Linked DNA regions of Homo sapiens: all the other regions are linked to region 5. The links are contacts of gene promoters, found by promoter capture Hi-C in blood cells and fetal thymus (Javierre and others, 2016). All regions are on one chromosome and are shown on one strand. The core of a region is centred on a gene start or on the middle of the fragment in contact, and the rest is flanking DNA. Distances in the headings are between cores, read along the strand shown.

What was found. The method cuts DNA at HindIII sites, captures the fragments that hold promoters and counts their contacts. A CHiCAGO score of 5 or more calls a contact.
Region 1: a fragment that was not itself captured here is called in contact with the fragment with the promoter of ANGPT2 in region 5 in 4 of 17 cell types (total CD8 T cells, non-activated CD4 T cells, activated CD4 T cells and 1 more); the score reaches 7.1 in total CD8 T cells.
Region 2: a fragment that was not itself captured here is called in contact with the fragment with the promoter of ANGPT2 in region 5 in 13 of 17 cell types (naive B cells, total B cells, fetal thymus and 10 more); the score reaches 22.2 in naive B cells.
Region 3: a fragment that was not itself captured here is called in contact with the fragment with the promoter of ANGPT2 in region 5 in 17 of 17 cell types (naive B cells, total B cells, megakaryocytes and 14 more); the score reaches 24.5 in naive B cells.
Region 4: a contact is called between a fragment that was not itself captured here and the fragment with the promoter of ANGPT2 in region 5, in 9 of 17 cell types (naive B cells, fetal thymus, erythroblasts and 6 more). The highest score is 11.3, in naive B cells.
Region 6: a contact is called between a fragment that was not itself captured here and the fragment with the promoter of ANGPT2 in region 5, in 8 of 17 cell types (fetal thymus, non-activated CD4 T cells, naive CD8 T cells and 5 more). The highest score is 8.3, in fetal thymus.
Region 7: a fragment that was not itself captured here is called in contact with the fragment with the promoter of ANGPT2 in region 5 in 10 of 17 cell types (total B cells, naive B cells, fetal thymus and 7 more); the score reaches 18.1 in total B cells.

Annotation. Positions count from the first base shown.
Region 1 is chr8:6,349,140-6,352,824 of GRCh38, forward strand. No RefSeq gene overlaps it. Among named protein-coding and RNA genes, the nearest start is that of MCPH1-DT, 56 kb to the right of the region's middle. The HindIII fragment of the contact is 224 bases long and covers 2,185-2,408 here.
Region 2 is chr8:6,742,120-6,746,095 of GRCh38, forward strand. The region is part of intron 5 of AGPAT5 (1-acylglycerol-3-phosphate O-acyltransferase 5); the gene reads left to right. It overlaps MIR4659A (microRNA 4659a), which reads left to right and starts at 3,045; the gene lies at 3,045-3,125. MIR4659B (microRNA 4659b) reads right to left here and starts at 3,121; the gene lies at 3,049-3,121. RefSeq lists enhancers at 2,336-2,615, 2,646-2,725. The HindIII fragment of the contact is 519 bases long and covers 1,194-1,712 here.
Region 3 is chr8:6,762,788-6,766,807 of GRCh38, forward strand. No RefSeq gene overlaps it. Among named protein-coding and RNA genes, the nearest start is that of MIR4659B, 20 kb to the left of the region's middle. RefSeq lists an enhancer at 1,107-1,156. The HindIII fragment of the contact is 3,191 bases long and covers 766-3,956 here.
Region 4 is chr8:6,812,975-6,817,103 of GRCh38, forward strand. It overlaps XKR5 (XK related 5), which reads right to left. Exons shown (of 7, transcript NM_207411.5): 6 at 2,833-2,944. Among named protein-coding and RNA genes, the nearest start is that of XKR5, 20 kb to the right of the region's middle. The HindIII fragment of the contact is 4,153 bases long and covers 579-4,129 here.
Region 5 is chr8:6,561,862-6,565,828 of GRCh38, forward strand. It overlaps ANGPT2 (angiopoietin 2), which reads right to left and starts at 1,384. Exons shown (of 9, transcript NM_001118887.2): 1 at 786-1,384. The coding sequence starts at 1,073. The region is part of intron 12 of MCPH1 (microcephalin 1); the gene reads left to right. RefSeq lists enhancers at 201-726, 727-1,253. The HindIII fragment of the contact is 4,979 bases long and covers 1-3,967 here.
Region 6 is chr8:6,377,617-6,381,290 of GRCh38, forward strand. No RefSeq gene overlaps it. Among named protein-coding and RNA genes, the nearest start is that of MCPH1-DT, 27 kb to the right of the region's middle. The HindIII fragment of the contact is 408 bases long and covers 1,362-1,769 here.
Region 7 is chr8:6,722,188-6,725,950 of GRCh38, forward strand. AGPAT5 (1-acylglycerol-3-phosphate O-acyltransferase 5) reads left to right here. Exons shown (of 8, transcript NM_018361.5): 2 at 2,683-2,752. Among named protein-coding and RNA genes, the nearest start is that of AGPAT5, 15 kb to the left of the region's middle. The HindIII fragment of the contact is 7,430 bases long and covers 1-3,763 here.

The sequences.
Region 1 (3,685 bases), core at 1,047-3,546, 210 kb before region 5:
TGGAACTATAATAATCGTAACCAACATAGTCATCTATATTTAAAAGTCAAGTAACGGTGCTTTCAACTCACACATAAAATCTCAAAATGTGAAAGATTTCAGGCTGCTGTACCATAGATGTTCAATGAAATTTTTTCTCTTCCTTTCTTTCTTTCCATTTGTTTTTCCTGGCTTTATTAAAGCATAATTGACAGATACATATTTCTTTCTTTAAATATGTCTACCTTCCATTATGTGGTATGATTACATACCTTTGAGGGCTTACGTATCTAAAAAATCTTTCCTAATTTGATAATATCTTTTTTTTTTTTTTTTTTGAGATGGAGTCTCGCTGTCGCCCAGGCTGGAGTGCAGTGGCACAATCTCGGCTCACTGCAGGCTCCGCCTCCCGGGTTCACGCCATTCTCCCACCTCAGCCTCCCGAGTAGCTGGGACTACAGGCGCCCGCCACCACGGCCGGCTAATTTTTTGTATTTTTAGTAGAGACGGGTTTTCACCGTGTTAGCCAGGATGGTCTCGATCTCCTGACCTCGTGATCCACCCGCCTCGGCCTCCCAAAGTGCTGGGATTACAGGCGTGAGCCACCGCGCCCGGCCGATAATATCTTTTTATCAGTAACATTGTCTGGTTATATTTGCTTGACTTCGGCAAGTTCGCTTCTGGAACATCAGGACACTGTGGAGATTAAGTTTCTTCCCATATTGTTGTTTTTCCCCCCAAATCATCAGGCAACCTGAGCTTTGCAATACCCAGAATTGTCCACAGTCCTAGGTCCTTTTGCAATCACGATTACGTCTCCATTTCTTATGTGTCTGTAACCTCATTGTGACCTTCAGTAATTTCTCATTTGAGGTTATTTTTTCCTGGTTTGAAGCATGACTGTGGCAGTCATCTTAATGAATGATGCTTGTTGAGACTGGCCACAGTTAAAGAGTGAACTCTGGCTATCACTCAAGTTTCTATTGATCAGTGAAATTTCAGGGGGGAAATCAATAATTAGCAATTTCTTTTTCTTTCCAAAATATTGGAGGAAACAAAGACATGTGATCGGTTATTTACTACTCCAGTTGGTGCAGAGAATTCAGGAGCTTACCCACAGTCACTTAATCTTTCTCTGCTTTAATGAAGCTCCAGCCCTGACTTCAGCATCAGGTCAATTTGACTGATTGCTGGGGGACTTGCCAAAATTACCTACTGCCCTTAGTTGTTCAATTCCAGAAACTGGAAAATAACTTTGGAGGCAACTTTAGGAGGAAGACTATTTGTCCTCTATATAGTCTAACCACCACCCCAAGACCCCCTATCTTCCTCTTTAAGAAACAGGAGATAGGGCTGGAGGCAGATGGGCTGAAATCTAAAATAGGTTGCAGCAAATATTCCTACAGTCATAAAATATGCAAAAAGCATCCTTTAAATGTTAAGTATTTGGTTGACTCATATGACATTGCCGCTTTTGTAGACTAAGGACAGTGAAATACCAGTGATTTCTTATATTTTAACCTAAATAAAGCTGGCCAGGCTCTGGGGATACAGCAGAAAGTGAGGCAGATACAGCCTTTGCCCTTAAGGCAGGGAAAATGACATGAAGCTTTGTCACATGACATGTTATTAATTATGTTGTGGGCTCTGCCACAGAGCAGGTAACAGAGGAACTTTCCACTGGGGGTAGTTCTGGGATGGCTTCTCTGCAGACGTGACCTGGAGGTTTCATGCTGAATGACGAGCACAGGCTGATAAGCAGAGGCCGGAGGAGGTGGGGACATTTCCGGCTGAGGGGACCACCCCAGGGGGAGCTTGGGGAGCTGTGCAGTGACTACAGATAGAAAGATGGGGTTCATCAGAGCACCACACAGTTCCCTGGGAGGCAACCGCCCTCAAGTGAAACTCCCAATGAGACACTATAGAATTCTAAATATTTTATAATGGCATTTATCTCTAGAAGCAAGAAAAACGCTATGGTTGATGGAAAGACCAAATAGAATTAGATACGACGTCAATAACTTTGCATGGCACTAAAATGTCTTATGGAATTAATTTAGAGTTTACAAAATGGAGATTTCGGTTACACCTGATTTAGGAATTTTACCATTTATAGATGAGATTGTAGTGATTATTCAGATGCAATGAACAGAAGGGAAGAAGCCAAAATCAATCTTTCTAACAAGATTCTCTACACTGCTTGCAAGCTTTTGTGTTTCATCAAATATATATTTGGAGTTATTTTTCCTCCAGATGAATTAATTCTCCATTTCCTGGTTTAAAGTATTTCCTTTCCTGCTCAGCTGTCTCATCTCTGAGAGTGTTTTTATATTTCATCTGCATCATCAAGTATGTTTACCTAAAATGGGCCCTCTGACACAAATTTACACGTACCTGTTCCAAAATTCAGGTTCATTTTGGGGGTCAGAAGCTTTTCCTCTTTAGGAAGGCCACACAGCAAAGTGGTTAAATATAAAAACTAACAAACAGAAAAGCTGGGCTTTGGAATCCACAGGCCTGGTTCTGATTCCCACTGCTGTGTAACATGACTTTGTACAAGGCACTTGATCTCTCTGAGCCACAATTTTTGTTTATTTTAAAAAGGAAGATAATTTTAAAAATGTGCATAATAGAGTTTTTATGAGCAGTAAATGTCATAGTGCATATATTCACTTAACAGAAAGCTTGGCACGTATTGTGCTTAATAAACAGCAATCATCATTTTGTTCAATATTATGTGCAATTCATGATTTTCCTGAAGTAATCAATAATAATAACTTTTATTGAACATACCCTTTTAGGCCAGGCACTGCTTTGTAAATTTAACATATATCACCATATTATTTTAAATCCCCTCAAAGTTGATCTTATTTTTATCAGTTTGGGGAATGAAGTAGTGTAATGCAGTCTTCAGAGTACGGTTTTCAGAGCCGGAAGACCTGAGTTCCATTGCTGATTCTGTAATTTATTAATAGCAAGAACTTGGGACAGTCATTTAGTTCCTCTGGGTCTTTGTTTCCTCATCCGAAAAATGGGATACACTTATCAGCTTATATAGACTTTGTGGGAACTGACTGTGACATAACATGAAAATTACAAAGTACAGGCCGGGCACGGTGGCTCACGCCTGTAATCCCAGCACTTTGGGAGGCCAAGGTGGGCAGATCACGAGGTCAGGAGATCGAGACCATCCTGGCCAACACGGTGAACCCCACCTCTACTAAAAATACAAAAAAAAATTAGCCGGGCATGGTGGCGGGAGCCTGTAGTCCCAGCTACTCGGGAGGCTGAAGCAGGAAAATGGCATGAACCCAGGAGGCGGAGCTTGCACAAGCATCTGTTCTGCTTGCTGTAAAGACGCATCCAGGAATAAATATAGTCTTTGTCAGAAATTTACTTAAACTAGTGGAATTGGGGCAGGGCACGGTGGCTGACACCTGTTATCCCAGCACTTTGGGAGGCTGAGGCAGGCAGATCACGAGGTCAAGAGATTGAGACCATCCTGGCCAACATGGTGAAACCCCGTCTCTACTGAAAATACAAAAATTAGCTGGGTGTGGTGGCGTGCATCTGTAGTGCCAGCTACTCGGGAGGCTGAGGCAGGAGAATCTCTTGAACCCAGGAGGCGGAGGTTGCAGGGAGCCAAGATCGCGCTACTGCACTCCAGCCTGGTGACAGAGGAAGACTCCGTTTCAGAAAAAAAAAA
Region 2 (3,976 bases), core at 203-2,702, 180 kb after region 5:
TCGTACTTTTATTAGCTGTATGGTTGCAACTTGGAAGTTGTGTAATGTTGCTGAGCTTGCTTCTTCATCTCTTAAAAGAACATATGCCTTATAAGTAGATCTAAATCTGTGTGAGGATTAGATTAGAAAATATGTCAAGTTTCTATTGGAGAAGTTACACAAAGTTGGTCCACAGTGCTTGGAAGCTGTTAATGTCTTCAACAATGGTAATGTTCTTAATATCCATATTTTAGAAAATTGAATAATTGGTACACCAATAAGCTATGCAATTTAACCAAATTGGGAAGTATACAGAAAACAGTGGCTATGCTATGTTCTTAGAGGTGTCTTTGAAGCTTGACTGTGATTTAGTGTGTGATCTCCATATGTTGATAGTCACTCACTGAGCAAATACCTTGTTGGTGACATTACAGCAGGGCCTATGACAGTGCTGTCTAATGGAACTTTCTGCAATAATGGTAAAGTTCTTCATCTGTTCTGTCCAGTGTGCTGGCTCCTACCAATGTGGTTTTTGAGCATTCAACATGTGACTAGTGCATGAAACTAATTTTTAATTTTATTTAATTTTAGTTTAATTAAAAATAAGGGGGAGTTTTTACAAGGTGCTTACAAGAGCAGATATGTCATAGGTATATGACATCATTTGTAACAGTACTTTTAAAAAATGCCAGTTTGTTTTTAAACACATGTCCTATTAAGTAAGGAGTGTTTCAGAATAGGAGGGTTCAGTTGGTCTCCCCATCTGCCAGCTCTCTTTTGACTTTCATTGCTTCCTCTGTCTAATAGACATGACGTTCTGTCATTTCAGTTGCTCTTTTGCAATGCCATTGTCTCTTTTGCCCTTTTCACATTTATTAAACAGAACAAAACAAAAACCACTCTCGAATCTGTAGTCTACCTTTGTTGTAAGCACTTTTTCCAGTACTCACTCTGCCCTCAATTTGTTTTGGTCTGATTTGAAATTCTCTCCCTAGACTTCTGTGGGGCTGTTCTCCATTATCCTCCCAACTCTCTGGCGATTACTTCCTAGCCTCCTTTCCAGCCTCTTTCTGCTTCATTTCTCCCTGCTACATGTGTTATTTCCAGTGTCAGGTTTTGGTGTTTGATTAATTTCACTTTTTGTTTCTCATGGTGGCCTTCCTCTAAATCCATGGCTTTAGCCATCGTTTCCTTGACTGCTGATGACTCGCAAAAGCTTCCTCCCCTCCATGTCTCTCTGCCTAACTCTGGACCCATTTGTACAATTGTCCATTAGAGAGCTTCGCTTGACTGGCCCAAAAGGATGTCTCAAACTCAGCATATTGAAGATAGAATTTATCCTTCCATGCATACACTCATATTTCTTGTCTTGGTAACTCCATCATTCAGTTTTTTTGCCTAAGTTTTATTCACAAAAAGAACAAATTGATAGCAGTTGCATACCTCTTATAGGAAACTTAGACATGGAGGAAGAAGCTGTTCAGATGGGGTCCTGCAGAAGTGCAGGCACTGTGGTAATATTTAAACTTTTCTCAGCTGTTCGAAGGGTTTTGTTTTAACTAATTTTCCTTAGACTTGTTTTAGGTATTTGGCTTTCTAATGGTTATAAGGGATGTGGAATTAAATGTATCTTAATCTGCCACCTGGACCCATTAAAGTAAGCCCCTATGGTGGTTTTTTTTTTTTAATTGCCATGGTTAAAACCATAGTTGCTAGCGAAGGTGACATACTTAAGCTTTTTGAACTCTCTTAAAAGAAAACAGAAATTTAATGATGTGTCTATAATGGCAAACCAGATACCTAGAATTTCCATGTTATTCATAGGGTGAATAACACTGGCGATTGTAGAGATTTGAGAGTTCTTTCAAAACAGGAGAACAAAGGGAATAAGCTACAAAGCAATTTTTTTCTTTGTAGACTTAACTGAATAAAAATTATTTTTATGTCTCAAACATCATATGAACAAATTTAGTTGGCAAATGGCAAGCTAATAATATTTTATAATATAGGATATTAATATACTTAATATTACAAAAGTGCTTCATAATTAGAAAAGACATAAACTAGAAAAATGGGAAAAGGGCATGAATAAGAAATTCAAGAGATACAAATGACCCACACACTTGAACAAATGTTTATTCTTTCTCATAATCAAAGAAGTAGAAATTAAATGAATACTTTGAAGCCAACTTCTGAGAAAGCATAGCAAACAAGAAAGCTAGTGCTCAGCTTTGTGTGGTAACGGCACTCTCGCTCTTAAGAAGGTGTGTTTGCTCCCTGTGGCTGCTCTCAGGCAGGGCCACAAACTTGGTGGCTTAAAACACCACAGATTTCTTCTCTTACATTTGAGAAGTCTGAAATGGGTCTTACTCAGCTGAAATCAAGGTGTTGGCAGGGCTGCAGTCCTTTGTGGAGGCTTGGGGGGATCTTGTTCTCCTGTACGGGGTCCTGTGCTTGGTTCGGGGTCCTGTGCTTGGTCTGGGATCCTGTGCTTGGTTCGAGGTCCTGTGCTGGGTCCAGTGCTCTGCTTTTACCACCTTGAAGTTCATCTGGAAATGGCACTGGCTCGCCCACACCATATAGCTGACTCTGGTTCTCCCTCCTCCTCACTCGCTCTAAACCTGTGTTTTTGGCTGATTTCTAATCTCTCTTTCCTTGGCCCTTCTGCAGCTTGCAGGGCCTTCTGCAGCTCTTGTCTGCCCCAGCCCCGGGGTCTGCCCATCCCAGTGCTGGGCTGTTCTGTTCCTGCCCTGCCTTTCCTCAGCCCTTGGCAACCCTGTTTGTTTTCTCCCTTCCTTAGCAGTGGAGAACATCGTAAGATCAATGCTGACTGCCTTCTGCAGCCAAGCCAGGCCATTTCATTTCAGCCGAGCCAAGTCTGTGTGGAGCAGTTCTTTTATTTTTCTCCTTTTGACTACCTCATGGTTTTCACGGATTTTTGTTCTCTTCACATTCAAGGATTTTTTGCTTTCAGAAAGTTATATTTCTCTGGAAAGAGTGCACCCAATATCCCTTTTGATTTCAAAATCTTAATGTGGAGTCTCTTGACTTGGATTTCTTTGGAAGAAACTGCTGAAGCTGCCATGTCTAAGAAGAAAACTTTGGAGAAAAATTTTCTTCTTAGACATGGCAACGTCAACAGTTTCTAAGCTCTTGATTCCGTCTACCCTGTCTCCATCGTTGCCTCAGTCATCTGCCTTACTTCTCTGCAGGGGTTTCTCCCAGCTTGCAAATGTACTCCAATTCTGAAATAACTAAGTCTATAGCTGTGCAAAGAGAAGTCTGGGCCCCTTGCTTTCTTGTGTTTGACTCCATCCACTCTCCAGAAATGAATCCCACTTCTCACTTAACCACTGACCTCCAAAGCATCGTATCATTTGTGTCAGTTGTCATATTTGTTAACTTTCACATAACTTTTGACATTATTTATACCTTTATAACCAGGAAATAATTTTAACTTTATTGTAGAAATAAACAATGGAGTATAATTTTTCTTGTTGAAGATAAATATCACCTCCTCTTCCTTTAAACATCTCTTCCCTTTGTTTTTGTATTACATTGGTTTCCCCCCTTTTTTTATTTCCTGGGTTGTCGTATTCCCTGTTATTATTTTTACCTTTTTTTTTTTAATGTGGATGTTTCCGGAGTCTGTATTTCTTGCCTTTTCATCTTCTGCCCTTTATTATTCTCAGCCACTGCCATTACTTCAGTTATCCATTCCCATGGTTTCCACATGCTTAGCTTCGGTTGATTCTTGCCATTTTACAGACCATATTTCCAACTACTTCTAGAATGTTTTGTTCCTTCAGCCTCAGTATGCCCAATTTGAACTCATGTTCTCTCTCCCCCTTCTTTCTTCCTTCTTTCTTTCGCTCTCTCTCCCTTCCTTCTTTTCTTTCCCTCCCTCCCTTTCTTCCTTCCCTCACTCGTTCTCTCTTGCTTGCTTGCTTTCTCTCCTCTCTCTCTTTTCTTTCTGCATTCTTCTCCCTCCCTCTCT
Region 3 (4,020 bases), core at 1,111-3,610, 200 kb after region 5:
TTCTTTTTTTTTTTTTTTTTTAAGACGGAGTGTTGCTCTGTTGCCCAGACTGGAGTACAGTGGCTCAATCTCGGCTCACTGCAACCTCCATTTCCCTGGTTCAAGCAATTATCCTGCCTCAGCCTCCCAAGTATTTGGGATTACAGGCGTGTTCCACCACACCTGGCTAATTTTTTGTATTTTTAGTAGAGACGGGGTTTCGCCATGTTGGCCAGGCTGGTCTCGAAATCCTGACCTCAGATGATCCACCCGCCTTGGCCTCCCAAAGTGCTGGGATTACAGGCGCGAGCCACCGCGCCTGGCCCAATGTATTTGGATTCTTAAAGAACACTTTCAAATTAAATATCAGTTGAAGAGAACTAGAACTAAAGAATTTCTGTGTCAAACTGTTTAGCAAATGTAAGTAGAAGCTGGGAGATGTGTCCTGGAATGAATGAATACATCAGTAAAATACCATACGTATGTTATGATGTTATTGTTTCCTTGCCTTGGTTGATTTGGTTTTACTGTGAAATAATTTTCAATATAGAATTGTGATCGTTGGAATTTGGTCATCTAGTAGAAAATGAGAAAGAAGTTAATAGCTATCTTCCTTAAAGATTTCTGAGGTTGGGATTAAGGTAGTGTTCCCAAGGTGTTCTAAAACGGCAGCGAGAGCTGTGCACTCACTTCACAAATTTGAATTCCTGCTCTGTGTTAGGCGCTGTGCTAGGGGCTTAGCTTAGCACAGTTATTTCCAGAGGTTCCTGTGTATGGTGTGAAGAAAGCTTCACAAAGACTGTAGTGAAGCCAAAGATATAGTAGGGAATGAAAGCAAGGCATCACCACTTCCTGTGAGGACACGTTACTGCACAGGCACCCGAGCTGTGTCATCTCTACCATGTGCCTTGTTCAGGTTTTGGCAGAGCCCCTAAGCATATGCCCAGGAAGGGATCTATGTGGAAGTTGGCTCTTTCTGATGCATTCGGTGTTAGCTGGTTCTCGATGGTCGGTGATTCTTAGCTGAATCCAGAAGGGTGAAAACAGTTGCTGCTCCGGTGTAGTTGAGCTGGAGCATGGCGGCACATCAGGGCCACGTCACTGATGACACCATCAGTAACACACTGTGTTTCTCTTAAAACAGGGGCTTTCTGTTGTCCAGATGATCAAAACACAAGGTTCTTCATAACTCATTCTGTGTATCAGTGTTTCTTGTTTGGGAAGGAGATTGGGGAGGAGTGGCTGGGAGTAGATGGAGAGCCGGGCTTACGGGCATGGATTCTAGAGCCAGGACACTTCGGTTTGAGTCCCTGCCCTGCCCTGCCACTGGTCAGCAAGGGACTGTGGTCAGTTTTTTATTTTTTATTTTTATTTTTTCAGACAGAGTTTCGATCTGTTGCCCTTGCTGGAGTGCAGTGGCGTGATCTCGACTCACTGCAAACTCCACCTCCTGGGTTCAAGCCATTCTCTTGCCTCAGCCTCCCAAGTAGCTGGGATTATAGGCGTGCGGCACCACGCCTGGCTAATTTTTGTATTTTTTAGTCGAGATGGGGTTTTGCCATATTGGCCAGTCTTGTCTCAAACTCCTGGCCTCAAGTGATCCACCTGCCTCAGCCTCCCAAAGTGTTGGGATTACAGGCATGAGCCACCGTGCCGGGCCTTGTAGTCAGTTTCTTAATCTCTGTGCCTCAATGTCCTGAAATACAGAATGAAAATAACAGTGATGGAACCTACCTCACAGGCTTGTGAGAATTAAGCGAAATCATCTATGTGAAGCACTTGGATTAGTGCCTGTCACATTCTGAGTGCGCAAATGTTAGCAACTTTTGTTACACACACACACACACACACACACATACACACACACACACGTCCATAAGGGCATTCTGCCTTATACTAGAGCTAATAACTTTGTTACATTTTAGGTTTTTGGTATGTTGCTCTAATAGGGCATGTAACAAATGCAAAATAGACATTTTCAAGTAAAATGAAGTATACAAAAAAAACCCATAAACGATGTACCCCCTCTTCTTGTGTACTAACATCTTTATCCTTTTTGTTTCCATATCTCCTCCCCTCTTTCTGTTTCTAGAAGTTGACATAAATGAAAGATAATGAGATTAGAAATAAATCCAATATAAAGTATGCCTCCATGTGTCTAAGTACCTGGTAATTTCTGGCTCTGTTCTCTCCAACATGGTTTTTATTCCTGCACCCACTCTCACTGGCTCGTGGATAGATTTTGGTTCCTGGTGTATTTTATGACTTGACTGGCAGCTCCAGTCTGACATAAAACTGGCAATAGAACTTAAACTGAGCTTGGCCTCAGAGTGGTACAGTGAACAACGACATTGTTCTGAGGGTCAGGAGATCTAGAGTTGCGGTCGGGTCCCAAGTATGTAGCAGTGGGTCTCTTCTTTCTGGACTGCAGCGTCCCCTGGGACGTGGCTGCTAAAGACCTTCCCATCCTACAGTTTCATTCTGCATGCTGTTCCCCGGTGTTGTGCCAGCCACCTGGGCCCAATGCCTGGGGGTATCTTCAACCACCCCTACCACCTGTCTCTCTAAGCAAGTCTACTTGGTGGTTTCTTCATCCACCTCCATCTGCTTCCCCTCTATCTTCACCCGCTCAACACCCTCCCCACCCCCAACGTCCATTACCACTGAGCTCAAGGCAATGCAGCCAACAGCTTCCCCAGTTGCTCTGTTAGGACCTGTGAGCCACAAACCCACCCTCCACATCAGCACTTCCTAGTAGGGCAGCCGGAGCCCCATGTGGCTATAGAGTCCTTGAAATCAGAGAAGTTAGTGTACAATGCCAGACTTGGAAAAATAAGTACAAAAAATAAAATAGTTCATTAATCTTCATGTTGATTACATATTTGAGTGATATTTTGGACATATTGTCCTCAATAAACTATATTAAAATTAATTTGACCTTTTTTTAATGTGGCTACTAGAAGGTTTAATATTCGCTATATGGCATTATATCTCCACAGGGCAGACCTGATGTACAAGATGACTTAAAGGCGAGGAACTTTCACCCCAACCTTTGTGTCTCAAAACTGCCGTGATTCCTGGCACTGATTAGGCAATCAGCAACAGTTTGTTTAACTGATTCAGTAGGCATAATTTGAGATAACATTTTAGGGTTACCTCAATCATAGTTATATCATTAAGTATCACCTGAAGATTATTTTATTTTATTTCATTTTATTTATTTTATTTATTTTATTTTATTTTATATTTTTGAGGCGGAGTCTCTCTCTGTCGCCCAGGCTGGAGTGCAGTGGCGCGATCTCGGCTCACCTCAAGCTCCGCCACCCGGGTTCACGCCATTCTCCTGCCTCAGCCTCCAGAGGAGCTGGGACTACAGAGGCCCGCCACCACGCCCGGCTAATTTTTTCGTATTTTTAGTAGAGACGGGGTTTCCCTATGTTGGCCAGGATGGTCTCCATCTCCTGACCTCGTGATCCGCCCGCCTCGGCCTCCCAAAGTGCTGGGATTACATGCGTGAGTCACCGCCCCCGGCCCACCTGAAGATTTTCTAAAGCAATTGTGTTTGAATTTTATAGTCCGAAGTCAATAGATTATTTTAAAAAGTAAATGGCATAATCAATAAACATTTAATAAATGATATGGAAGTTACGATTTCAAAGAATATTCCAGGAATTCTTGGAGTTCAAGAAAAAGCACAATCAAAAAATAAGATCTGAAGCAAATATGAGAATATTGAAATGTGTTCATTCTGAATTGGCCTTATACTGAATACTATGTTATACTATTCTCTGGGTTTTTTGGTTTTGTTTTGGTATATTTACATTTTTTTCCGAATTAAAAAATTTTGTCAACTAGGCATATCAGTTATTTTGTCTAAAAATATTCTGAGCGGATTCCATACCGTATTATGGTTACTAATTAAATATGTCACCACTCTTCTTTGATCACTAATTCAAGTATGGGTGGAATCTGTCTAAAGCTTGTAATCTTCAAGGAATTGTAAAAATCCTCCTGTTTCTTACTGGTGTATTTCAATGAATG
Region 4 (4,129 bases), core at 1,405-3,904, 250 kb after region 5:
TAACAGAGCATTCCAGTAAGCCTCCCACGTTATTTCCAGTTTCCTGTTGTACTGGATAAAGTGCCTGGTTTCAGGGTGCTCATTATAAACAGCACAAAACCTGAAGTAATGCCTGAGAAGGCCAGGAGATTGCAGCATGACAGAGCTAGAAAGACTGCCTGAAGGACATCCCCAGCCCCAAATCCTCTCTTGTGTCTTGGGGGACTGGGAGACCCAGATCAAGCAGCTGGTTAGTGGCCAGGCTCCAACCTTGGAAAGGGAGGTGGACTTTCTCCATGTTCAGTGCCACCTCTGCAGTAGGTCCTGCTCAGCCAGTTTCTGCACTGTTTTGAATTCTCACAATTGCCTGGTGAGGGACATATTGTCACCCTTCTTTTACAAGCAGCCACCCAAGGCCAGGAAAGATGAACAAAGGCCCCTGATCACAGAAGTCCTGGGCACACTTATTCAGTGAACACAATCTTTCCAGAGGCCATGTGGTTTGAGGGTTCTTGGTGGCATCCCCAGGCTGGCACGCAGTTGGTACTCAGTGAATATTGGTCCCAGGATGGAAGGAAAAGGGGAGGAGCCTGGATGCAAGCTTGTGCTCCTTGGACTACAATTTGGGTTCAATCTTCCTGCCTAGGATTCCCAAGGGTCGGCTGGGAGTCAGGGGTTTGGCAGCTCCATCAGAGGCCGGAGGAGGAGCGGCAGACAAGGCTCTGAGCCGGTGGCCACCTGGGTGCTGAGTGCTGCCCGTGGCTATGGGCTCCCTACTCACTGCCCGTGGCTATGGACTCCCTACTCACTGCCCTCCAGCTGTGCCGTGGGCCAGCATACTGGCTGTGAAAATGTCTTCTCACTGGAGTGGAACTGGAAGGAAACCAGGCATCCACTCTCAGGAGTGTGACAGGTTTTCGGAGTGGTGTAGGACATCTTTTCTGAGTCAGTGTTAAAATCCAGAAAGTAGATGAGGGGACATTTTCCCTCCCACCACACTGCCCCCAGGACTCAGCTATACCTCCCGTGAACTGGAAAATCCAGATGAGTTGTTAGACCTCCCGGCCGGCAAGGCCCCTTCATTCCAAGTATCACATGGCCCCTCCCTGAAGGAAGGATTGCTTGAAATATGCCAGGAACACCCAGACCACGATGCAATGTGGTGAGAGTGGTGCTTCTCACCCGGGCAGCGCGATGTCCTCAGTTTCCCATAGGCCATTTATCCACACACACAGCTTAGAAATCAATGCTCTGCGATTCAAATGATTATTTTAAAAAGGATGAACCAGATGCCCGTCCATGGGTCGACGATGAAACAAGCTGTGGTCCGTCCAAACCATGGGATGCGACTCAGCCATCAAAAGCAAGGAGCAACCCGGGAGGCTCTCCGGAGAGCTCTGCCAAGTGAACAAGACCGATCCCCAGGGTGCACACACTGTGTGGTACTTTCACAACGCATTCTCCAAGTGATAGAATAATAGAAACAGAGAACAGAATAATGGTTGCCAGGAGGGAAGGAGGTGGCAGGGGCGAGAGGAAGGGGGCCACATGAAGGGTCCTCGTGGTGATGGAAGGGTTCTCCCTGCACCTCGACGTACTACTTTGAGATCCTGGCTGTGATGTTGTGCCACCGTTTTGCGAGATATTACCACTGGGGGAAAACCTGGTAATGGGTACGGGGAGCTCTGTATTATTTCTTAAAACTACAATTATCTAAAAAGTTTGATTTGAAAAAGAAGGGGTTGTCTCAGCTACCTGAAGCTGGAAGAAGTGAGGACCCGTGACGTCTCATGAAGAAGAACAGAGCTGAAACCCAGGGTGGCCTGTGGCTCTCAAATGCTTGTTACGAAGCCACAGTGTGTGACATTTCTCTGACCCGTGAACAGCCCCTGCATCTCACTAAGTGTTTGTGTCCAGGTCATTCCTTTCCCAGGTCCAGGCCACTCACACAGGCCACATCCAACCCCCGGCTGCTGTGAGCAAGAAAAGAACCCGAGGCCACTTCCAGGCACCTCTTCAGGGTGTGGGTGACAGAGAGCAGGCTCTGGAGGGAGGGCAGGAGTTGTTGCAGAGGACTGGGGAATCTCTGTCCTGGCCCATGTTGCAGAAGCACGAGGCCCCACGTGAGAGGTGCAGGTGCTGGCTTTGACGGTCCCACCGCAGGCCTGAGAGTGACAGTGGTGGAAGCCTGCTGTGCTGGGAGAGGAGGCTGGTGTTCGCACCTTTCAAGTGGGGGGCGGAATCCCTGCGGAACTCATGCCAATCTGGGAAGCGAGGTCATCACCGTGGGTGTGACACAGACCTTGGGGCCATGCATTCATAAAACACGGCTGATGACAGTGCCAGGCCTGTGCTCAGGCCTGCACTGGAGCTGGGCTTGAATCTCAGCTCTATCTGTTACAAACCATTGGATCTTTCGGGGACTCAACCTCCTCTGTGCCTCACCTTCCTCTCCTCCTCTGCTAGGGCACCCACTTCCCGGGGTGCTTGTCTATGGGCTGCAGGGGGTGCCATGTCAGGAAGATGTGAGGAGCTCCCCTAGGTGGGAGGGGAGAGAGAAGTCACGTCCTCAACCCTGCAGGAAGCTCCGGGGAGGACGGGGGCTTTGGGGTAGAGAGGGATAGCCCCAGCTTTGCTTGAGGTTCCGAGCACAGTCAAGCAAGGCAGATGAGGCTGAGCTCAGTATCTCATGCTCTGATGGGCATGGCTCTGCCCCCCACATCGCAGTGAGCCTGGTTCCTTGGTCTCCAGTTAACCACATCTGAACTCAGTTTCCTACCCTTTGAGCCCATTGTAAAAAAAAAAAATACGTTGGGGAGGGGATGCAGAGAAGAAGGTGACATTGGGACTTACCAATCAGAAATCCAGACAGGACCCCAGCTATGGTCTGCAGGCTGGTCCACGATGCCCCCTGGAGAAAGTCGGTGGCCAACAGCAACAGGATGATGTTCTCCAACAGCATGACCTGCGGGACCCAGGACAGAGGCACCACACCTCGTCAGGTGCACACTGCCTAGGGACCCCCGTCCCGTGAGTCTGCAGCGGCTCCCCCTCCCCTCCATCCTGAGTGCCCACTGGAGACTCCAGGCTGCTGAGGAGTACCCAGGAGCAGGGCTATGTCCCACTGAGACCTTCTCTGGCAAAGAGAGAGCCACCCTGTTCTCAGGGTGGCTCATTAAAGTGTCTGCAGAATCATAAAGGCCCAGGAAATGTAAGGGCATCCCTCAAATGGCTGTGGGGCTGCCTTTAGAGAGTCATTATGGGCTGAGAGGGGACTTTTATTTTCTACTTTGCATATTTCTCCATCCTCACACTAACTGCAGGCACTCATTAGTGTTAAAATGAAAGATAGCTGCAGAGCTCATGATGCCACTGAATTCCAGGGAGCTAGGGTCACAAACTTTCTAACAACTTTAGGATTTTGTTTCCTTAAAATAATTGCTTTGCGGCCACCAGGTGGCAGCCGGAGACGGGAGCTCGCAGGCTGACAAAGGAGCCTGGCCCCGTGGCTGCAGCTGGTCAAAATGGCAGATGGTCCAGAAGGCTCTTTGTACGCCCATCTGGGTCAGCTTATTAACTTTGCTTTCCAATTTTTAAATATAAAAAGATACGTCTTCATTAAAATAAGTAAACAAATGACATAATTCAAAGACGATATATTTAAATACTGTGTGTTTTATATTTAATATATATTTTAATTTATTTTTATTTAATTAAATAATTATTTAATTTAATTAAAAATAATTTAATTTTATTTAATTAAAATATAATTAATATATATTTTAATATATTTAATATATATTTATATTAAATACTGTGTATTTTATTTATTTAAAAATAACACTTAAATTATATACTGATTTGCTAAAACTCTTCAAAAGATTTGCCAGGTTATTCATTGGCTTCGTTTTTCACTCTCAAAAATTCAAATAAGGAGAGAAATAAAAAAAATTATGAGGAGCTGCTTCGTAATCCTATGAACATCCATTCTCCCAGTCCCTCTGTGTGCAATGGGCAGGGTTTCTGCCCTAAATGCCTTGGCCAGCAGCCAGTACAGAAGGCATCTTTCTCTCCCCACTCCTCAGCTGTGTGGTTCTGGTGGTTCAGATTCTTAAGTTTGTCCCAACTCCGTCACCTGCCTCCTGTCTTT
Region 5 (3,967 bases), core at 134-2,633:
GTGGGATCATCTGTGAAACAGTGGAATCACCCCAAGAACAAACTGTCAGACAGACCGTCCTGTCGTGGCATGACTTGAACATAACCGTCCCACGTGGGGACGCATTCCGCACCGGTTGCTGGAACTGACGGGGGCTGCAGTGCTGAATACCTCTGGGACGCTTGGGAACTGTGCCCCTGTTTACAGACGGCAAGCCCTTAGTGGTAGGGCCCTGAGATTCTGAGAAACATAAGGTCTGCTTTATTTAATTTCCTCTCGTTTACCAAGAGTCACAACCTATTTTAGTAAATAAATTCAGGAAATTGGTAAAGCACTTTACTCCATCCGTTATGCCTCGGTCATCAGCATGGTTGTCACGGTCTCTCTGGCTCACGGGCTGCTGCGGCTCACAGCCTTCCCTCACTTGCCTGCAACCAGCTGAGAGCCTCCCTGGTGATGGGTGTTACTGAGCTTAAACGATGTAAACAAACAGAACGGCACACAAGTTGTGCAGGGAAGTATATTTCCTCTACCTTGTTAATAAAGATTTCTAACTTTAGAGATTTTCTGTATTGACTCTGGCATTCTTTCCAAATAATTATTTTCACCCCGGGGACTACCCACACACCCTGGGATAGAATAAAAGAAATTATCTTTCATTTGAGGGTACCAGCAACCCGCTCTCCAGCTCTAATCCTCTTCATCCTCCTTCTTTTTTTTTTTTTTTTTTTGGTTGTTAAAACCTGAGCTGCTGCCAAGCTGATCTTAATAGCATGTTCACAAAGACAGATGGATTTTTTTCCTACCTTCATTAGCCACTGAGTGTTGTTTTCCATGATGTTCTCCAGCACTTGCAGCCTCTGCACCGAGTCATCGTATTCGAGCGGCGCGTCCCTCTGCACAGCATTGGACACGTAGGGGCTGGAGGAAGAGCGGCAGTTGTCCATCTCTGGCAGGAGGAAAGTGTAGCTGCAGGACCCATGCTGGACCTGATATTGCTTCTTTCCTATGCTGTCCATGCTCTTCCGAAAGTTGTTATAGGCTGCGGCCAAGACAAGATCACAGCTCAGAGTAAAGAAAACAATCTGCCACATTCTTTCTTCAGTAATAAACCAGCAGCTTAGCAAACTTGAGGGCAAACACACGTCCAGAGTCCCGAGCTGCTGCCGTCTAAAACGCAGGGCTGCTACGCTGCCATGGCTGGGTCCGTCAATGAAAGTCTTCTCTTTCCTCTTTTTCCAGTAGCAAACCTGGTTTTTACTGCTGTGTTCTCTCCAGGCATGCAGTAAACTGTCAGATTGCAGTGGGAAGAACAGTCCTGCTCACTTGGGAGGGCTGTGTCAGCTTTTACAGAGCAGCTTTCACGGTCCTTTGTTCCTCTCTCCCCAGATCCTACAGTGTCAGTATCCGAATCAATCACTTTCCTTTCCTTATATGATAAGTTGATAAGAGCAGCCAGACATGTGTAGTGGGCTGCTCCGCCCTCCTGGCTTAGCCGTTATCTTCCTGTAGGGGGTCACTAGCCAGGCAACAGGAAAAATCAGAGCAGAATGCCTGCCCTCCAACCAGGACCCATGCTGCAGAAACCCTCTGGGAAAAACCGATCTGTTACAGGACCCCTGGGCATTTCCTAGGCACCACCCCAATTAAGTATTTCCTAGAGAGAGCAGTTGATCTCTTTTGTCTGAAACTGATTTTTGCCGTGCTAAGCTGGCAAAATATCTGAGGTAATAACTTTAATGTTGAAGTACAATGAAAGTTCCTGTTTTTTCCTTTAGGAATAAAAATATTACAAATAGGTCAGGACTTCGGTTTATTTTTGTTATTACAAATAAAGAGGAAGAAGTTTGGCTCCTGTAAACGTGTGCCTTTTCAGAGGGAAAAATAGATTCATTGATTTTAGTTGATTCTTGAACCACTAGCCAAGTTACAAAAGATTTTCATTTCCGAACAGTTGGATAGAAAGATCTGTTATTAAGTCACGTTAGAAACATCAGTTTCTGAGCTCTGACCTTTATTCTTTAAAAAAACTCCACTTGGATATTCACTCTAAAAATACACTGTACTGATTAAGTTCATTACATTACAATAGAGAAATTAGAATTTAAGTGCCTGTGTAGAAAGAGGAATACAAACTTTTTTTTTTTTTTTTTTTTTTTGAGACGGAGTCTCGCTCTGTCGACCAGGCTAGAGTGCAGTGGGGCAATGTTGGCTCACTGCAACCTCCGCCTTCCGGGTTCAAGTGATTCTCTTGCCTCAGGCTCCTGAGCAGCTGGGATTACAGGCAAACGCCACCACACCCGGCTAATTTTTGTATTTTTAGTAGAGACAGGGTTTCACCATGTTAGGCTGGTCTCAAACTCATGACCTTGTGATCGACTCGCCTTTGGCCTCCCAAAGTGCTGAGATTACAGGTGTGAGTCACCATGCCTGGCCCACAAACTTCTTTATTGTGTCAGAATTTGTTGACATCTCAGCATTTTGTAACACATTATCAATTACATTAGTCCCCCTTGGTATTAGACTCGGGCAAGTCACTTCCCTGTTTTAATTAAGCTCTAATGTCCTCATCTGTGCAATTCAAGGGGTGCACTCACAAGATTTTTCACCTTCAATCCTATGGCTCTGTAAGTTCTGCAAGTCACTTCCTTTAACAACTAAAACTTAATACTTCAGAGATTAATAATATGTTAACTCAGCAGCCCAAGTGTACATAGGGAAAAAGCCCCCTGCCTTTGCTGCGGTTTATCTCTCAAGGTACAAGGTTTATTATTCCCAGTGAGCGCTGAATAGCTGGTACACTGACTTAACAGACCACATCTACCCATAAAAGATCTTTATTTTTTACTAAGCTCTAACCGAAAGACAGCCTTTCCCTTATCAATGAATAGTTAACGAACAACAGTGTGAATATCTGTGACTTTCTCATCCTCAGAAATCAGCTCTTTTTATTTGCTGCCACAATACTCAGAACTACATTTTTATTAAACCCAGCCCTAGATCTTGCTACTGAACATTGGAATAAAGTAGCATGTGTCTTCTTTTGAGAAGGTGTTTATAGGCTTCACCAGACAACCAAAGGGTTCTGTCACACAGAAAAGCTGGAAGACATGCTCTGGAAGGATCTCATTAGTAGAAGAGGTAGTATGATTCCACCAAGGTTCTGGACATGGTTTCCACTAAGGGAACCAATTAAAGATGCTATACCCATCCGGACAGTGCACCGTCGAAGAAAGCATATAGGTCTTAAAGATGAGACCTGTGTTAGAACCCTGCTTCTGTGTGACCTCCAGCAAATGCTTCCATTCTTGGAGCCTCAGTCTCCCTAGTCATAAGATGGAGATCATTTTTTCTCTGTAGGGTTTTTAGGATTAAGATATAATTGTATGTTTAGAAATATTTGTTCCTTTTCTTTACAGGCATGCTCCATTAAATGGGGATCAGTTCTTCCACCATCAAATAGTATAACTCTGCTATTCTCTGAATGCAAAGCAGTGGCAGTGGCATAGGGTACAATTTTTTTATTTCCTGTTTGAAAAAGCATATTGTAAGGTATTAATATCACATATGTGGTTTTACCTTTTTTCAAGATTATTTTTTGTAGAGACGGGGTCTCACTCTTGTTGCCCAGGCTGGTCTTGAACTCCTGGCATCCAATGATCCTCTTGCTTGGCCTCCCAAAGTGCTGGGATCACAGGTGTGAGCCACTGTACCTGGCCTGCATATATGGTTTTAAAAGTCATTCAGTTGTCTTCCAGGCAAATAGAGTAGTTTAAAAGGAACAAATAGAAAGAGGGCACACCACAGTACTTTTTGTCTACCAGCCTTGTGTCAGACACCATGCTATGCACTGGGGATAGAGATTAAGGCAACTGGGTGTCTGACCTAAAGAAGCTAATAGTGTATGGAGAGGGAGAGACCCATAAACAAATTGGATGTGGTAAGAGAGAGCAGTCGGAGCACAAAGAAAGACAGTGATGCTTCCGGG
Region 6 (3,674 bases), core at 316-2,815, 180 kb before region 5:
GTATTTAGTAGACATGGGGTTTCACCATGTTAGTCAGGCTGCTCACAAACTCCTGACCTCAGGTGATCCACCTACCTCGGCCTCCCAAAGTGCTGGGATTACAGGCATGGGCCACCACGCCCAGCCAGGAAAACTTCTATAAAACATAAAAATGTTCCAAAATAAGCTGACTATACTTGCTGAATTTTGATATTAAACAAAATATTTTGCCATCTTGGTAACCTAACATAGATGTTTCCATCAAATATTATGTGATGCACATCAAAGTTACTTCAAGTCATAGAGGAAGAAATTTAAAAGTTTACCCACCAATGACTTCCATAAAAGCTCCAAGTAGAGAAAAGAATTATGACAATGTGCTAATCTGGTCCAAGCATTTTTGCCTACAATCAGAACCAGAATTTTTGTTTTGTCCATTATGTTTCAGCACTATAATTTCACTAGTGATTCATTTGTATATTTATCTACTGACACAATTCTAGAAATTCTTTGTGAAATACATATACATTCTGTTAAAATTTTTATGTTTCCTGTAAAACACACAGAAGTGCATGCACACACATTGTTGTTTTTTATCAGTTTTACCTAACTGAAAAGCAAGTGAGTTGACAGTAACTTGATTTAATCATAATGTAGCTGATATGCTTTTTAAAAAATGCTTCAGCATCTATTGATTTAGTTAAGTCTATTTTCACAGAATAATAAAAATTTTTTTGTTTGTTTGTTTTGGAGACAGAGTCTTGCTGTTGCCAGGCTGGAGTGCAGTGGCGTGATCTCAGCTCATTGCAACCTCCACCTCCTGGGTTCAAGTGATTCTCCTGCCTCAGCCTCCCAAGTAGCTGGAACTACAGTGCACCACCATGCCTGGCTAATTTTTGTATTTTATTTTATTTTTATTTATTTATTTATTTTTGAGACAGAATCTTGCTCTGTCGCCCAGGCTGGAGTGCAGTGGCATGATCTTAGCTCACTGCAAGCTCCACCTCCTGGGTTCACACCTCCAGAGTCCCAGCCTCCAGAGTAGCTGGGACTAAAGGTGCCTGCCATCACAAAATACAAAAAATTGACTAATTTTTTGTATTTTTAATACAGACGGGGTTTCACCGTGTTAGTCAGGATGGTCTCGATCTCCTGACCTCGTGATCTGCCCGCCTCGGCCTCCCAGAGTGCTGGGATTACAGGCGTGAGCCACCGTGCCTGGCCTAATTTTTGTATTTTTAGTAGAGATGGTGTTTCACCATGTTGGTCAGGCTGGTCTCGAACTCCTGACTTCATGATCCACCTGTCTCGGCCTCCCAAAGTGCTGGAATTACAGGCATGAGCTACTGTGCCTGGCCCAGAATAGTAAATTTAAATGCAAAAGCTTAACTAAATTTTAACAACCGTTACCATTTATTTAGAATCTTTGAGCTAAATCTGTGGGACTCATTATTTCTAATTCTCCCATCAACGCAGCAGATGGGTATCATTATTATTCTCAAGTTACAGATGAAGAATACAAAGATTAAGTATGTTGCTGAAGCTCATGCTTAGTAAATTGTAGGGCTAAGGTCTGAAGATTGATCCCCATGTGAAGAAGAGTCATTCTCACCACACTGCGAAAACTTAAGGTTCTCACCCTGAAATCTGCTGCCTACATTTTTCAATCCCTTGAAACTGCTTTCAATAAAGCCCCCTGTGGCCTCCTTGTCACTAAGTTTAAGATGAACAATTTTTTTTTCTTTAACTTTTAAGTTCAGGGGTACAAGTGCAGGTTTGCCACATAGGTAAGCTTGTATCATGGGGGTTTGTTGTACAGACGATTTCATCAATCAGGTATTAACTTTAGTACCCATTAGTTGTTTTTCCTCATCTTCCCCCTCCTTCCACCCTTCACTCTCTGAAACGCCCCAGTATGTATTGTTCCCCTCTATGTGAGAGCTAAATGATGAACATTTTTCATCCTTATCTTCGTTGACCCTTCCACATCTGAAATTGTGACCTCCTCCCTCTCTGTGAAACAGAACCTTCTCTTGCCTTCCTCACCACCACCCTTCTGGTTTGCTTCCTACCTTCCTGGCTACTCCCTCTTACAATCCCTTGCCTATTATACCTCCTCCACCTCACTCATAAAGTTTGGAGCCCTTCAGAGCTCTGTTCTAAGTGGCTTTGCCTTTTCTTTTCTCATCATTCAATAATGCAACAAAATTTAGTGAACCTCTGTTATTCACAAGCACTTACGAGGCTTGGGTACCCTGCAGTGAGCAAGAGAGGTGAACATTGAGTAGATAATGACATGAGGAAGAGCCAAGACGGGAGGTTGGAGAATCCATGAGGAAAAAGTCATGCAGTGCCTCACGGGCTGCAGTAAGGATCTGCATATTCCTTGAGGATAGCATAGTCATTGAGGGACGTTAAACAGAGGAGTGATGTGATCTCATTTGTGTTTGTATAAGTCCACTCTGGCTACAGCAGTAAGAATAGATTGGGGTTGGGAGTGGGGACAATCACCATCATTCTTGGTCAGGCTTACTTTGAGACAGAGTCTTCCTTGTCACCCAGGCTGGAGTTCAGTGGCACAATCTTGGCTCACTGCAACTTCCACCTCCCAGATTCAAGCGATTCTCCTGCCTCAGCCTCCCGAGTAGCTGGGATTACAGGTTTGCACCACCACACCCGGCTAATTTTTGTACTTTTAGTAGAGACAGGGTTTCACCATGTTGGCCAAGCTGGCCTCGAACCCCTGACTTCAGATGATCTGCCCACCTCAGGCTCCCAAAGTGCTGGGATTACTGTCTCCCCAGATAGTTTTGGCGTTAAAGTATATTGAAGGATGGTAGTCACTGAATATTTCACATGCTAGTCTTGTGGTACAAAAATATAAATATATACTCCAAGGTCATGAACTAAATGAAAATACTAATAGGCAGGGGTTAGGGACTGATTTGTGTCTCCTCCCGCATCTTGTATGTTGAAGACCTAACCCCAATGTGACTGCTTGGAAATGGGACTTTTAAGGAGGTAATTAAGGTTAAATGAGGTCATAAGGGTGGTCTGTAATCCAATGTGTCTAATATCAGGACCTGATTAGATTGAACTTTCATAGTCTCCATTCTGATAATTTCCTCATTAATTTTATAACCAGAGGTCACGTGCTGTGGCTCACACCTGTAATCTCAGCACTTTGGGAGGCCAAGGTAGGCGGATCACCTGAAGTCTTGGGAGTTCGAGACCAGCCTGACCAACATGGAGAAACTCCGTCTCTACTAAAAATACAAAATTAGCTGACCATGGTGGTGCATGCCTGTAATTCCAGGTATTCAGGAGGCTGAGGCAGGAGAATTGCTTGAACCTGGGAGGTGGAGGTTGCAGTGAGCTGAGATTGTGCCATTGCACTCTAGCCTGGGCAACAAGAGTGAAACTCCATCTCAAGAAAAAAAAAATTTGTAACCAGTAAACAATTTTTGATTACAGTTTATTCAAACCAATAAAATTTTTGCTGCCCTGATCCTTTGATTAGAATTTAAAGGGGGTTGGCTGGGCACGGTGGCTCACACCTATATTCCCAGCACTTTGGGAGGCTGAGATGGGTGGATCACGAGGTCAGGAGTTTGAGACCAGCCTGGCCAACGCAGTAAAGCCCCATCTCTACTAACAAAAAATACAAAAATTAGCTGGGCATGGTGGCAGGCACC
Region 7 (3,763 bases), core at 1,264-3,763, 160 kb after region 5:
CTTTACAGATGGAAATTCATATCACCTTTCCACAGGGAAATTTATGTCCTGCCTTAGGCAGTTAGGGGAAGGGCAGAGAATTCTTCCTGTATCTGCTGTGTCTCAGGTGCCTTCAGCTCAAAATAATCCTTATGCCAAAGTAGCATATTTGGGTGTGGCATATTCTCTGATCTCTTTCAACAGCATCATCTATACTTAACAACAGCAAAAGTTTTTTTTAAAAAATCATGTTTCAAGATTTGCATGTGGAAGACAAATGGACATGATTGAGATAAATGAAGAATATATATTTTTTAACAAAGAATGCTGTATATTTATGTCTCTGTGACATTGTGTTATGGAGGCTAAGGTGTTAAGCATGTGATTACTTTAGATGCCGTATGACTACCTGTTTTTAAGATTAAAAAAGAATCAATAGGCAGTTTATATGTCATGGGAGCAAGTTAAAAACAACACAGATGTGATGAAGGCGAGGTGAAACTGGTCCGCATCTAATTCAGGCCTTCTCCTGAAAGCCAGTGTGTGCAAGATAAATAAGTTTTTTTGACGAAAGCAGAATAACTAGTTTGTCCTTTGTGATGAAGATAGTTATTCAGAAATCATTTTTATTGGCTACCTCTGAATTAATAAATGAAAAGAGAAATTTTTTTTTCTGTAGGGGATGTCTGATGAGTTCTTAAAAAGTGGATGAACCTGAAATTATCATGAACAAGCAATCATAATGAACTTAAAATTACTTAAAGAGTTATGAAAAACAAAAAGAAAAGCCGTATGTTTTCTTGTGCCTTATTTTGAAGTGACAAATTATTTGCAGGGTACATTTGTAGACGGAACTAATGTGATTTAAAAAATGAGTACTAGATTTACAGAATGAAGCCTTTAAAAAGTCACTGGTGCACTTTAATTATTTTATTTATGTTTATTCTGAAACTACCTTTATTTTGAAAATGAGGTATAGCTTTGCCTACTGGTGACAAAAGTGTAAATAATTCAGTAAACATCTGTTAAAAACCAGCTTGGTGCTAGGCTCTTGGGGTAGAAAACTGATCAGGCCATTGAGGAGCTCATAGTCCCTAAGGGGCTGGGGACTTGTCATTAGGTGTGCAGTGTGTTCTGGATGCTCCTGAAGGAGTGTGGGCAGGTGCGCACCACCATGCCTGGCTAATCTTTTTATAATTATGTAGAGACAGGGTCTGGCTGTGCTGCCCATGCTGGGTTTGAACTTCTGGGCTTAAGAGATCTTCCCTCCCTGCCCCTACCGACCCCGCCCGCCCACTCCACCTCAGCCTCCCCAAAGCACTGGGATTGCAGGCATGGGCCACTATGCCTGGGCTGTGCAAAACTTTTAAATCAGTGCATACTCAATGGTCTTGATGCAATTCTGGCTTGTTGGTAAGAGAATGGGGATTTACTCACAAGCCACGATGTCACTTTTAACTCTGAACAGATCAAGCTATTGGTATTACTCATTTATGTCATCGATAAACTTTATGAATAAAAACTCATTGTGCAAATGTTTAAACATACTACATACATAGCACTGTGCAGTTTCTAAGGAAAGTAATGGAAACCTTTGTCACATCCCTGGCTTCCAGAACTTTATGTTATCTAAGTGCATTTGTCTGCAAAGTTGTTGGGTTAATTGCCCCTTTCTTTCTTCTCTTTTTAAGATATTAATAAATAGTGTCATGACCAAAAGATAATCCTTATGGACAAGATAGATCTAAAAAGCCTTAGCTAATTTATAATCTTGCATAATCCATGATGACAAGATGCAGAAACAAAAATGCCCAGAATAAAAACTTAGCACCATTAGCAGCCATTTCCTTTTAAGTCTTTACAAGTATACTCCCAGTTTCTTGAAAAATTTATTCTAAAATATGTAAGACACACAAAACAGCAGAAGGACTAATACAGGTACATCGAACACCTGTGTGCCTACCGCCCAGTTTAAAAATAAACTGGAATGATGTTTCTCTCATACTTACAGAATAAAGTTTTAATCTTTAGCATGGAATTCAAAAGACTTCTGCCATTCCAGTTCAGAGCCACCCTTCTGGTCTCCTTGCTCCTCAGCCGCGACACTGCCCATGTTCCCAACAGGCCTCCAGGGTTACTGCTTCCATTCGTTCTTATTCTCATGAACATTTTCCTTCATCTCATCTGCCAGAATCCTACCTAATAATACTCCTGCTCTGCAGTTTACAGTTCTTTAAAATTAAAAAAGGTTGTGTACCCTTTAGTGTCCTGAAAAAAGAAAAAACAAATTTAAAACCTTAAAAAGGTACCATATTTTCATAGTATTTGCGTTATGTCTCATTACAGTTCCTGTGGACATGTCTGTCTCTTTTACTAGATTGATTGTGGGCTCTTTGAAGGAAGATATATCTTATGAACAGTGTTTTATATATTGTTAGCAATCAATGAATGCTTGCTATATTTTTCTCATGAGGATATTGATTATTCTATTTTAATTTATTACCGTTAACCTGTACTATACATAACTGCTTTCTGTACCTGCGCTATTTATGATCTCTGAGGCTCCTGTGAGAAATCTAATTTTTGTTAATCATGGATGGAAATATTCACAACATCATTCGTCAGTTTCTTCACATTGTCTTCCTTTGTATATTACAGATGTTTTAAAATATCAAAGTAATGTTTTTTTGTTTTATCTTTTAGATATTGCTATATGGAGATTTGCCAAAAAATAAAGAAAATATAATATATTTAGCAAATCATCAAAGCACAGGTTTGTATTTCATTTGCATGAAACATAGGTTTTTCTACAGATGGCACATGGGCATTCAAAATACCGTTCTTATATTTAAATGAAGTGGGTTTTTTAAAACAGCAATTTTCTGTGCAGATATTACACCTGTTCTTGTATTTTTGTGATTTTACTTTTTGGAAAGTCAGAAACTTGAAAGCTATGAATTTTCCTAAACTTACCTTCTCCCTCTGTTGGATGTAAGTAAGCTATCTTCTTACTTGCTTGCTTTGTTTTTCCTTTGTGTAGCTCTTTAAAGAGTGTATTCATTCTTTTTGTAAGTGATGTTTCTAGAAGTAGCATTGGTGGGTCGAAGTGTGTATACATTTTACATTTTTGATTGCTAAGCTGCAGAAAAGCTGTATTGGTATGTAAGTACTCGTTTCCTTACTATGCTCGTCATTTCTAGTGTCTGCTCTTCCTTTCCTTCTTCAAATGGGTTTGGTTTAATTCTAGTTGCTACTGTTCCATCAGAGGAATTGCAGAGAACTGGTCTTCAAAACAGTGCAGTATATACTTTAGGTGAAGATACTTCTAAAAACCTTTGTATTTTGAGGTAATTCTAGAGTCCCAAGAATTTGCAAAAAGAGTACATTGTCAGCAATATTTTTCCCAATGGTGACATCTTAATATAACTGTAGCACAGTAGCAGAATCAGGAAATTGTCATTGGGTAAGGTACTTTTTAATTCTCCAAATAATTCAGCCCTCCAAAAAAATCCCACTTCTTATGTTTTCAAACCTGTAGCTACTTTTGATGCGTACTTCCTAAATTGCATTTTTATTACTTTAAAAAATATAATACCTAGAAGCTCAAAGCTGGAAACAGCCTGATCAATATAGTACTCTTAAGCTAAAAACAACCTGATCAATATAGTACTCTTAGGGAAATCACTTATGCCTGTGGCTTTTTTTAAATTTTCTTCCTGTCAGCTGTCTCTTCATGATTTTGTGGTTTTTATTACTGCTTATACCATAGATGAGGTATAGAAAG